Regions from separate parts of the Homo sapiens genome. Here regions 1 and 2 are each linked to region 3. Evidence: promoter capture Hi-C in 16 types of primary human blood cells and fetal thymus (Javierre and others, 2016). All regions are on one chromosome and are shown on one strand. Each heading gives the region's core, a stretch centred on a gene start or on the middle of the fragment in contact. The rest is flanking DNA. Distances are from core to core; before and after follow the strand shown.

Evidence for each region. Contacts are between HindIII fragments. The CHiCAGO score rates a contact against its expected background, and 5 or more counts as called.
Region 1: a fragment that was not itself captured here is called in contact with the fragment with the promoter of TTL in region 3 in 6 of 17 cell types (M0 macrophages, total B cells, M2 macrophages and 3 more); the score reaches 7.3 in M0 macrophages.
Region 2: a fragment that was not itself captured here is called in contact with the fragment with the promoter of TTL in region 3 in 1 of 17 cell types (M0 macrophages); the score reaches 5.7 in M0 macrophages.

Annotation. Positions count from the first base shown.
Region 1 is chr2:111,902,341-111,905,761 of GRCh38, reverse strand. The region is part of intron 1 of MERTK (MER proto-oncogene, tyrosine kinase); the gene reads right to left. Among named protein-coding and RNA genes, the nearest start is that of MERTK, 5.4 kb to the right of the region's middle. The HindIII fragment of the contact is 5,986 bases long and covers 1-3,421 here.
Region 2 is chr2:111,919,285-111,922,466 of GRCh38, reverse strand. The region is part of intron 1 of MERTK (MER proto-oncogene, tyrosine kinase); the gene reads right to left. Among named protein-coding and RNA genes, the nearest start is that of MERTK, 22 kb to the right of the region's middle. The HindIII fragment of the contact is 2,718 bases long and covers 149-2,866 here.
Region 3 is chr2:112,480,510-112,483,936 of GRCh38, reverse strand. TTL (tubulin tyrosine ligase) reads right to left here and starts at 1,781. Exons shown (of 7, transcript NM_153712.5): 1 at 1,436-1,781. The coding sequence starts at 1,592. RefSeq lists silencers at 1,011-1,110, 1,671-2,060 and an enhancer at 2,381-2,450. The HindIII fragment of the contact is 5,056 bases long and covers 1-3,427 here.

The sequences.
Region 1 (3,421 bases), core at 749-3,248, 580 kb after region 3:
CACGGTGGCTCACGCCTATAATCCCAGCACTTTGGGAGGCTGAGGTGGGCCAATCACCTGAGGCCAGGAGTTCGAGACCAGCCAGGCCAACATTGTGAAACGTTGTCTCTACTAAAAAATACAAAAATTAGCTGGGTGTGGTAATGGGTGCCTGTAATCCCAGCTACTCGGGAGGCTGAGACAGGAGAACCGCTTGAACCCAGGAGGTTGAACCCTGGGTTCAATCGCTTGAACCCAGGAGGCTGCAGTAAGCTGAGATCGCGCCACTGCACTCCAGCCTGGGTGACAGAGTGAGCCTCCATGTCAAAAAAAAAAAAAAAAAAAAAAAGAACAGTGTAGGTTTCTCAATGAAATGTTTGAGACATAATCACCCTTTCTTCTTTATCACTCTGAAACACCAGGACCTGAGGAGGTGACCTGGCCATAGCAGCCCAGGGTTTCACATGCCGGCCATGTCCCTAGATCCTAGTGCCTGTCAGAGGCCCCGAGAGTGAAAATGTGGCAGCTCCCATGAAGGGATGGCTGTCCAGCTGCAGAGTCTCACAAAACTAGGGAAGATCTAGGCCCTCCCTTCCTGTGGCTAAGAATCACCCAGTTCAACAGCCATGGTTCAGACAGAGAAAAGTAAGGCCTAGGAGGGAGGAAGTGCCAGGATGGCAGGTATTCTTAGTATCCTTGTTCTCCAAAAGGGGCCTGCTGATCCTAATGGAATTCTCTGCCCCTGCCAGGCTGCATTTTTAGCACTTCGGCTGGAGGCAGGAGTGGGAGACATAGAATGAAAAGAGAGGGAACTGGTTTAACTCCGGTCACGGGTTAGCCAATGCCCAGAGTGCCAGAGGGAGAGTAATCAGGGCTCCCTCCCGGGCACCTGAGGGTTGGCTCACCCATGCCATTAAGCAGGAAGTACCAGAAGCCAGGAGTGCACCTGGCGCCCTTTGCATTTCCTACAAGACCACCTGCGGACACATACTCACGCCTGTACACGGAATCTACTCTAAGAACCAAAGCCTCATTTTCTCTATGTTGCAGCCAACTGACCTCATTGGGAAAACCTAGCTCGATGTGGTAAAAAGGAAAAGAATTTTCTGAGCTGGGTGAGGTGGTTCACTCCTGTAATCCCAGCACTTTGAGAGGCCGAGGTGGGTGGATCGCGAGGTCAGGAGTTCAAGACCAGCCTGCCCAACACGGTGAAACCCCGTCTCTACTTAAAATACAAAAATTAGCCAGGTCTGGTGGAGGGCACCTGTAATCCCAGCTACTTGGGAGGCTGAGGCAGAGAATTGCTTGAAGCCAGGAGGCGGAGGTTGCAGTGAGCCGAGATCGCGCCACATGCACTCCAGCCTGGGCGACAGAGCAAGATTCCATCTCAAAAAAAAAAAAAAGAATTTTCTGGATGTTCACACTCAAAAACCCTAAAACAAAACAAACACAAAAAATAAAAATAAAAAAATTTAAACCACACCCAGTTTGGAAAAGAGTTATGTGGGAAAAGTTGAACAGGAACTGGACTTCATTTTTATACCTTCCTGAGAGGCACATGACAAGAAGCTATTCCTGTACTATGTCAAGTTTGAACTCCATAAGGGAAGGTATGGGGGCAGGAGTAGGAGGGGAATGGCAGTCAGGGCGGGCCCTGCTTCTCTGGAGAACTGCTTGGTCCTGGGTGGGTTTTGCTCAAACTACTAGGAAACAAAAACCTAAAGAGCTGCAGCAAAGGACTTGGGCACTCTAGGGCGACACCGGAGGGCCCCTTCACCAAAGCATTCTGAACAATGGAGGGTGGACCATTCAGGATACACTTCAATAAGAAAAGAACCCTCCTCCCAACACCTTTTGTCTAGGAAAAACATTTCCCCCATACTTGAGTTCAGAAGAATGGAGGAGAACCATTGGTAATAATGGCAAATATATTTTAAGCACATATCACCTGCCATTAGCTCATTACGTCCTCCTAACAATTCTATGAAAAGAGCCTCCCACTGTACCCAAAAAGGAACAGAGGTCCTGAAAGTTAATCACCACCCCCAAAGCCCCAGAAGCCAGTCCCGGTTAACACTTTCATTCCAGTCCCCAGAGGCATAGTGTGCCTCACACAGTGTGAGACCCCTTTCAGTTTTTATAATAATTAATCTCCTGCTGAGAAACATACCAATTCAGAGCCATGTGCTTTGGGTTAAGATTAAACTAACGGCAAGGGCCAAAGTCAAGGCACCCAGGGCTACCTGCCCCTGAGCAAGGAGTTGTTAGAACTGTGTTTAACATGAAAAATTACCTTCTGACATTTTTTTTTCTAGTTGGAATAGTTAGGACAATGTAAAATATGTTTGGGGTTAATACAGCCCAAAAATCTGTCTGGTTTTAATTGACTAGCTCCTCCAGCAATGAAATCACATTGGCATCACAGCAAAATAAAAGATTGTTTTCTATTAACCAAGCCCCGAATGTGAGGGCATGGGAGCTCCAGCAATTCTGTTTCTGGAAAAGCCAGTAGGAAAAGATAAGGGTGAAGAGCACCTGGTAAGACATGCAGGGGCTTGGTTCCTTCATGCTGTGCTCTGATACTCACTGAGCACCCGTATGAGCTCCATGCTGTGTTAGCAGTGAAAAAGACAGCAGCCCTGCCACCAGGAGCTTACCTTGTGGTGGGGGGACAGTGGAGGAAAAGGAGTAAACAAAGAGGTAAGGCTGGGTGCCATAGCTCACGCCTGTAATCTCTGCACTTTGGGAGGCTGAGGTAGGCGGATCACCTGAGGTCAGGAGTTCGAGACCAGCCTGGCCAACATGGTGAAACCCTGTCTCTACTAAAAATACAAAAATTAGCCAGCTGTGGTGGCAGGTGCCTGTAATCCCAGCTACTGGGAAGGCTGAGGCAGGAGAATTGCTTGAACCTGGGAGGCGGAGGTTGCAGTGAGCAGAGAATTTGCCATTGCAAGACTCTGTCAATAAAGAAATAGAGGGAGGGAGGGAGGGAGGAAGGAAGGAAGGAAGGAAGGAACTGATCAGGTTGTGAGAAGCATTATCAGGAAATTAAATTTAAGGGATAGTGGGGTGTATGCATATGATACTTTGGCAGGGGGTGGTTATTGGGGAAGGCTTCTCAAGGAGAACCTCTGAACTGAAACCCAAAGGATGAGAAGAAGCCAGCATGCCGAGATCTTGGGAAAAAGGTTCCAGCCAGAGGGAAGAGTCACTGCAAAGGCTGCTCAGGCCCTAGAAAGAAGACACAGGTGGCTGGAGTGGTAGGAACAAGAGGGAAGTGAATGGAAATGGGTCAAAGAGGTTCGCTGTGAGTCTCTGCAAATTCTAGTAGGGAACAGGAAGCCACTGGAAGATTTTCAAATGGAAAATACAATCAGATTCGTTTCCAAAATCTCATTCTGGCTATTATATGGAAAGCGACTGTTTCACATGTGTGTTCAAG
Region 2 (3,182 bases), core at 258-2,757, 560 kb after region 3:
ATATAATTGCCAGCCATGAGTGAGAGGAAAAAATATACATCGGGCTTGGGATGCGAAGGGCTCTTAGCTCTAAGGCATCTCTCAATCTCTCCAGGGATGGTCTCCACCAGCCTTTCCTAACATGAGCTCCTTTGATTTTCTTGAAGCTTGGTGATCACAGCCCAAGGTGATCACCGAGGTGACTAAAGAAAGCAGCAGCAACTGAAATTGCAGGTCCCATGATAGTGGGTGGGGATGTGGCAGCAAGCAGCCTCCCTGGCCCTGGAGTCCCTCCATGCTGTGGGAAGAGGGTTGAGCAGGGCAGGTGGCAGCCCTGTGGGACTGAGGGTGCTGGCTGGTGAACCCTGTTCAGTTCCACCCCACCCCAGCTACCCCAGGATGCTGTGTGCCATCAGCCTGCTTTATGATCCCAGGCACCTGGGAAGAGAGAGGAATAGCTCCTCTACCAGAGTTACAGTAATGGCAGGAGTGAGTGCCAGCCTGTGGGACCCATTACTCCTGCTCTTTCTATTCCTTCCCCAACAATAAAATGGGCAGAAGCATCAGCTGAGCTCTCTAAAGTTCAGCCTCAAACTCAAGAGGCCCAGGCTAGGCGTGGTGGCTCCCAGCACTTTGGGAGGCCGAAGCGGGAGGATTGCTTGAGCCCAGGAGTTCAAGATCAGCCTGGGCAACAGAGTGAGACAAGTCTCTACCAAAAATAGAAATAAAAGAAAAACGAGGCCCAGAGGAGGCTGCAAAAGAGTGAGGGCTTATCTTTCAGTTCCTAGAGGTTCTTTGCTTCCCAACTCAAGCACACATGAACATATGGCACATAAATGCATGGCCAAGAGGATGCACCTTATTCCAGAGGTATGCTGTTTCCTCACCAGTCTTGCTGTCTGCTGAAGGTATTTGCTATCAAACAGCCCTACAGCCCTTCTGCAGGTGGGTTTGTGATTTAGAGAAAGGCTTTTTTTTTTTTTTTGAGATCGCGTCTTAGTCTGTCACAGCCCAGGCTGGAGTGCAGTGGTGTGATCTCAGCTCACTGCAAACCTCGCCTCCAGGGTTCAAGCAATTCTCCTGCCTCAGCCTCCTGAGTAGCAGGGACTACAGGCAGGTACCACCATGCCCAGCTAATTTTTGTATTTTTAGTAAAGACCGAGTTTCACCATGTTGGTCAGGCTGGTGTCGAACTCCTAACCTCAGGTGATCTGCCCGCCTTCACCTCCCAAAGTTCAGAGAAAGGCTTTTGCATCTGGAATCCTGTAAATGCTGGTATCCCTGTTTCCCTACCCTCTCTAGGAGAAAACGCAGAACCTAGACCAGTGCCCCCACCCCACATTCTGTGTGCACACACCAGGCTGATATTTGAATCATGTCCTGAGCAGCTGCCCTGTCACCCAGGTTAAGGACTCCCACCCCACTCCCTTTACCCCCACAGCTAGCTGAGGCCAAACATAGCACAAAAGGAAATTTTCTACTTAGTACTATTTATGCAATACCCAAAGGATTCCTGATTGATAAAGTGTAGTGGCCAGTCGCAGTGGCTCACGCCTGTAATCCCAGCACTTTGGGAGGCCGAGGCGGGCAGATCACCTGAGGTCAGGAGTTCAAGACCAGCCTGGCCAACATGGCAAAACCCTGTCTCTACTAAAAAATACAAAAAGTAGCCAGGCCTGGTGGCAGGCGCCTGTAATCCCAGCTACTCGGGAGGGTGAGGCAGGGAGAATTGCTTGAACCCGGGAGGCAGAAGTTGCAGTGAGCTGAGATCACGCCACTGCACTCCAGCGTAGGCAACACAGTGAGACTCTGTTTCGGAAAATAAATAAATAAATAAATAAAATAAAGAGTAGCAACACTTCATTAGAAGAAAAACAAACAAACAGAGTAGCAACACTTCATTAGAAGAAAAAGAAAAAAAAAAAACAACCTTCAATCAGAACTCACTTGACCTGATGGATCAGTCCTAAATTGCAAATGGTAATTATTAACTTCACTGGAGTGACCCTTGGGCCACTTGGAGAATGTTAAAGGAGGAAGAGGCGATCACGCCACCCATTTGCCCTAAGTGTAGCAAAGCCCTGCAAGAGAAAGCGGGTGGCTGGCTCTGAGTCAGTGCTGGAGAGAACAGGCCTGGCGCTTGCAGGAAGGAAAGGAAGTAAATGGCTGGGCAGTGTGTGCCCCAAGAGGTCACAGCCCAGCCACAGGAGGAGAAAAGCCCAAGTGCCAGTGAAAGCCCAGAAATGCCTGCACGGTGGAAGGAACGTGAAGTTGCCTGTAAAACACGGTGTTGGCATTGGGTTGCCAGATAAAAAACAGTACAGCCCTTTACACCTGAATTTCAGATAAGCAACCAATATGGGAACACCCCGGATTTACTTAGAGGAACAAATATAACTTAGTATCATTTAGTCAAAACCAGCTGGAGCCACAGCACTAGGGATTTCATTGTTGCCCTTCCCACAGGCTGCTTCTTGGGGCTTAGAGCAGCATGGAGAGTGGGTCTGGAGGGGCAAACAGGGACCTGGCACACCAGGAAAGCTATCCAACCTCTCTGAACCAAGGCTTGCAGCATGAAGGGGCTGAGACATCTGAGCAAAAGCACAAGGGGCTTGCTTATCAGTGGGGTGACCTTCCTACTGCCCCTGGCCCAATACATTCCTTTTGGCTCAAAAAAAAAAAAAAAAAGAAAAGAAAAAGAAAAAACATCAAAAAACAAAATGAGCAGAGGTACCTCTCTGCTTGGCCTTGAACACACATGTTAGCAGGGCAAGCCCCAAGGGCCCCAAAGGGCTTTAGGTACCCTCTCATCATCCCTTTCAGCCTGTCCCCCACTTTTTCACTGGGGCATTTGCCTTTTTCTTGGTGGTGCTTTGCAAAAGAAGCTTCCCAAACAGACTGCAATGTCCATGTCCCTACCATGGGGGGCACCAATGCAACCAGAAAAGAGCCTTCCAGAATCTGACCTCGACTTTTCACTATCTTCTTCCAACTCTCCCACTATGCTGTCAAACCCAGCGGAACATCAGAATCTTCCAGGAAATGTTTTTAAGCTTCTGATGCCCATGTCCCACCCAGGGCTTGAATTTATTGGCTCAGGGTGCAGCTTGGGCACTGGGATTTAAAAAAAAATCTCCTCTTATGATTCTAATGTGCAGCCAGGGTCAGACCCCTACTTTAGGGAATAGATTCAGTGGCACAGA
Region 3 (3,427 bases), core at 532-3,031:
TCTCCTTTCAGATCATGAATTCTCTTTGCTAGGGTCTTCCTGACACCGGTTAACCAAAGGGAGCCTCCAGGCACAGTCTCCATATTCTAAGATTTCTGGGTGTTCAAATGGGTCCTTCCATGGAGTCACCATTCTACATCATAAACTTGTATACCAATGAAAAGTTGTCCCAGGTACTATTCAAAAGAAGAAAATCCAGCAACTTTACACTGCAGCTCTTCATTCCTCCAACGATTTGAGTTTTACACAGCCCCCTCCCAAAGGCTCTGTCTATGGAAGCTCATAAATGACCAGTCAATTCCAAATGGCCCGTATTCAGTTTTTACCCATTTGAATTCTGACCACACCTATTTCTAAAAACTGTTTTCTCTCCTGGACATAGAACATTGCTCTCTCTGGGTTGCCCTCCAAGGTAGAGGTGACTCTTCCTCCGTATCGATTCTCCCCTTGTCTTTGGAATACAATTGGCCCCCACCTCTGGTGAATTCTGGCAAGGAACATGGCTCCCCGGAGAGAAGATGCAATTCCCAGATGACTGTGCAGAGAGGGAGGCCATGAGACTATGCTCAGGTCAATAGGATGTGAGTTGAACCGATCTGGGCAACTTCTGGATGACATCACTTACAAAGGAGCCGCTAGTCCCCTCCTATCTCCTGCGCTTTCCTACCCGTGGACATGTGGGTATGGTGGTGCCCAGCCAGCTTCAACCATGTGGATGAAGGTAATTCCCTCGGGGAGAGCAGGGAAGACAGGGAGGGCGAACGCAGCCTCGTGTAAGATCTTAATCCAATGCAGAACTGCGAAAACACATTATTTGGTGAAACTAAGGAAAGGTTTATAATCAGACATCCCTCCACACTTCCCTGGGCTAGGGTCTCTTCTGCAGCTCCTGCTTTTGGAATCCGGGGGTCTTTTCCAAATCCTCTGATCGCTCCTCCGCGCCTTCGGGGGGCAGAAGCCTCAGGGGTTTCAACACCTACGGCTCCCCCGCCCGCGCCCACGCCAAGCAGGGAGAAATCCTCAGTGCAGACGAGCTGCAAAAGATGACTCCAGCCGCCCGCTCTGCGGAGCCGCGCCCAGCGCGGCGGACCCGCCAAATCTGGGGGCTTCGGCCCGGGGGAGCCGCTAGACTCGCGCCTCAGGTCCCAGCCCCGGCGGCCAGCGTCTCCCGGGCTGCAGGGACCGGTCACCGTCGGGAGGTAGCTGCGGCCCCGAGTGGCCGCACCGCGACTCCGACTCTAAATCCAAGTTAGGAGACAAGAAAGCATTAAAAACGACAGGTTTCGATCTTTCCGAATCCGTTTCTGATGTGCCCGACAAGCGACAGAGGAGAAAATGTATGACCTTTAAAAACAAAAGCGCCGGTTCTAACGGGCCGCGGGAGGCGCGCAGGGCCGCTCCGAGGAGGGCAGACGGGAATCGGGGAGGGGCTCACCCAGTCTCCCGAAGGGCAGCCGATTCCTCTCTCCCAGCATCAGGTTGAATCTGGGGTTGTCTCGCCGCAGCCTCTTCCAGTGGCCGGTGGCGAGGAGCAGCCGGGAGACCTCGGCGTAGACGCTGCTGTTCTCATCGCGTACCACGAAGGTGTACATGGCGAAGCGCCGCGCGCCCGGGCCGCCGGGCAGCCGCCGCAGGGACCAGGCGGCCGAGAAGGCGGCTCAGCGCGGACCCCGCCCGGGCGCCCGCCGCGGCCCGGCCCCCGCCGCCCGCGCCGGCTACCGCGCCTCTCGGGTGCCGGCGGCGCCGCGCCCGGGCGCCCGCCGGGTGCCGGAGAGGAAAGCGCCGCTCGCACGCCCGCCCCCGCCGGCGCGGCCCCGCCTCTGTCCCGTGATTCCGCGCGGCCCGGCCCCGCCGCGCTCTGGAGGAGCCCGTGGGCGGCGGCGCCGCGCCCTTTCCGTACCCTCCCCCGGGGGCGGCGGCGGCGCAGGGTTGGAGACCCGCGGCGGTGGGCGCGGCTTTACCGCAGCGGGCGGACTGTGCGGTGGAACCGGAGCCCGGGCCTGGGGTGGTTCTTTCCGAGCCCCGGGTCGCAGCCGGGGGGCGGTGCCGGCGGAAGATCCCAGTTTGCAGGGCTCGATCTGGGTTTTTCTTCTATTGCCAAAGGACCTTTAATGGATAAAACCCAAAAGTTCTAAGGCCCGGTCCTGTGGCCTAATGAAGAAGCGCTTCCTCTTCCTCTTTGCTTAACGACTACGGAGACCCGGAGCGTCGGTTTTGTTTGTGTCGAGTGCTCCTTCCTTCGGCTGAGCCCAGGGTGGCGCACGGCCAAGGGGATGACCTTAGACTCTGCTGGTGGAAGCAGGTCCCAAACCGACCCCCTGGAGCCCTGGGCTCCGCTCTTTTCCTGCCTTTTACCGGCATTCAGCCACTTGCTTTCCCTTCTCCGGACCTCGATTTCCCCTTATGAGCGGCGGAGAGTGGCTCTTAAAAGTCCCTTCGGTTCTGATAGCCCACTCTGAAGACTGTGCTGCTGCATTTGAGATACAAAGAGAAGGCAATGATCATCAGAGCTCCCCCAAACTTCCTACAGTCCCTCATAAATTACCCACATCAGCCCTGCGCCTTGCATCTTTTACTCTCCTGTAGATAAAGAACACCCTGGGGCCTCTCCCCTTCCTGTCCCCCGATGCTCACGGTATCTACCCGAGCACATTGTAAAAGCGCCCTTCTCCTTCCCATCGTTGCCCAGATTCCACGGGGCCGCCAGGCGCTCACTCGCCTGTCTTGCGCACCGGCTCCACCTGCAGGCAACCGCTGGCTGTGGAGAGCCCGCTCAGAGCAGAAATGGGGCAGACTTAGAGGTGCTGGGTGCTTGCACTCCTTCCCAGCTGCTCTCCCTCCACGAGGGATAGAGTTGGTCGAGAATGCCCTGGCCCTCTCGCCCTCCGCACGTGCCCTGCGGGGAGGCGTGTGTCCTAGGCGTATTGCGGTGGTCCTCTGTAGGCCACGGCTGCGGTTGTCCACAGCTGCAACTTGCTCATCAGGGCATCTTCTGTTGGCTTCCTTCCTTTCCCTGACTACCGATGTTTCCTGGGATCACCTCCCAAAAAAACTACTGTACTCGTGCTCAAATTCTTGTTCCAGGGGGCACCGTTTGGGGGAACTCGAGCCAAGACGCTGTGTTTGCCGCTCTTCACGGCTGATCACCTTGAAAGTGACGTCCACTCCCACCATGCTGCATCAATTCCTCCTGCGACTCCTACTGACGACTCCTGTGCCACAGGTGGCTTCTCTCTGCCACTCCACAACCGTGGATCTCATTAGGAACACCAGTGACCTTTGAATTTCCAAATCCAGAAGCTACCTTTTTCCTTTTTCTCACTTTTTGTAGCGAGCACCATTTTTGTTTCTTTTAGCTGTAGGTTCTGTACGGTACTACTTATTCCCCACCCCACTTTTTTTTGAGACAGGGTCTCACCATATTGCC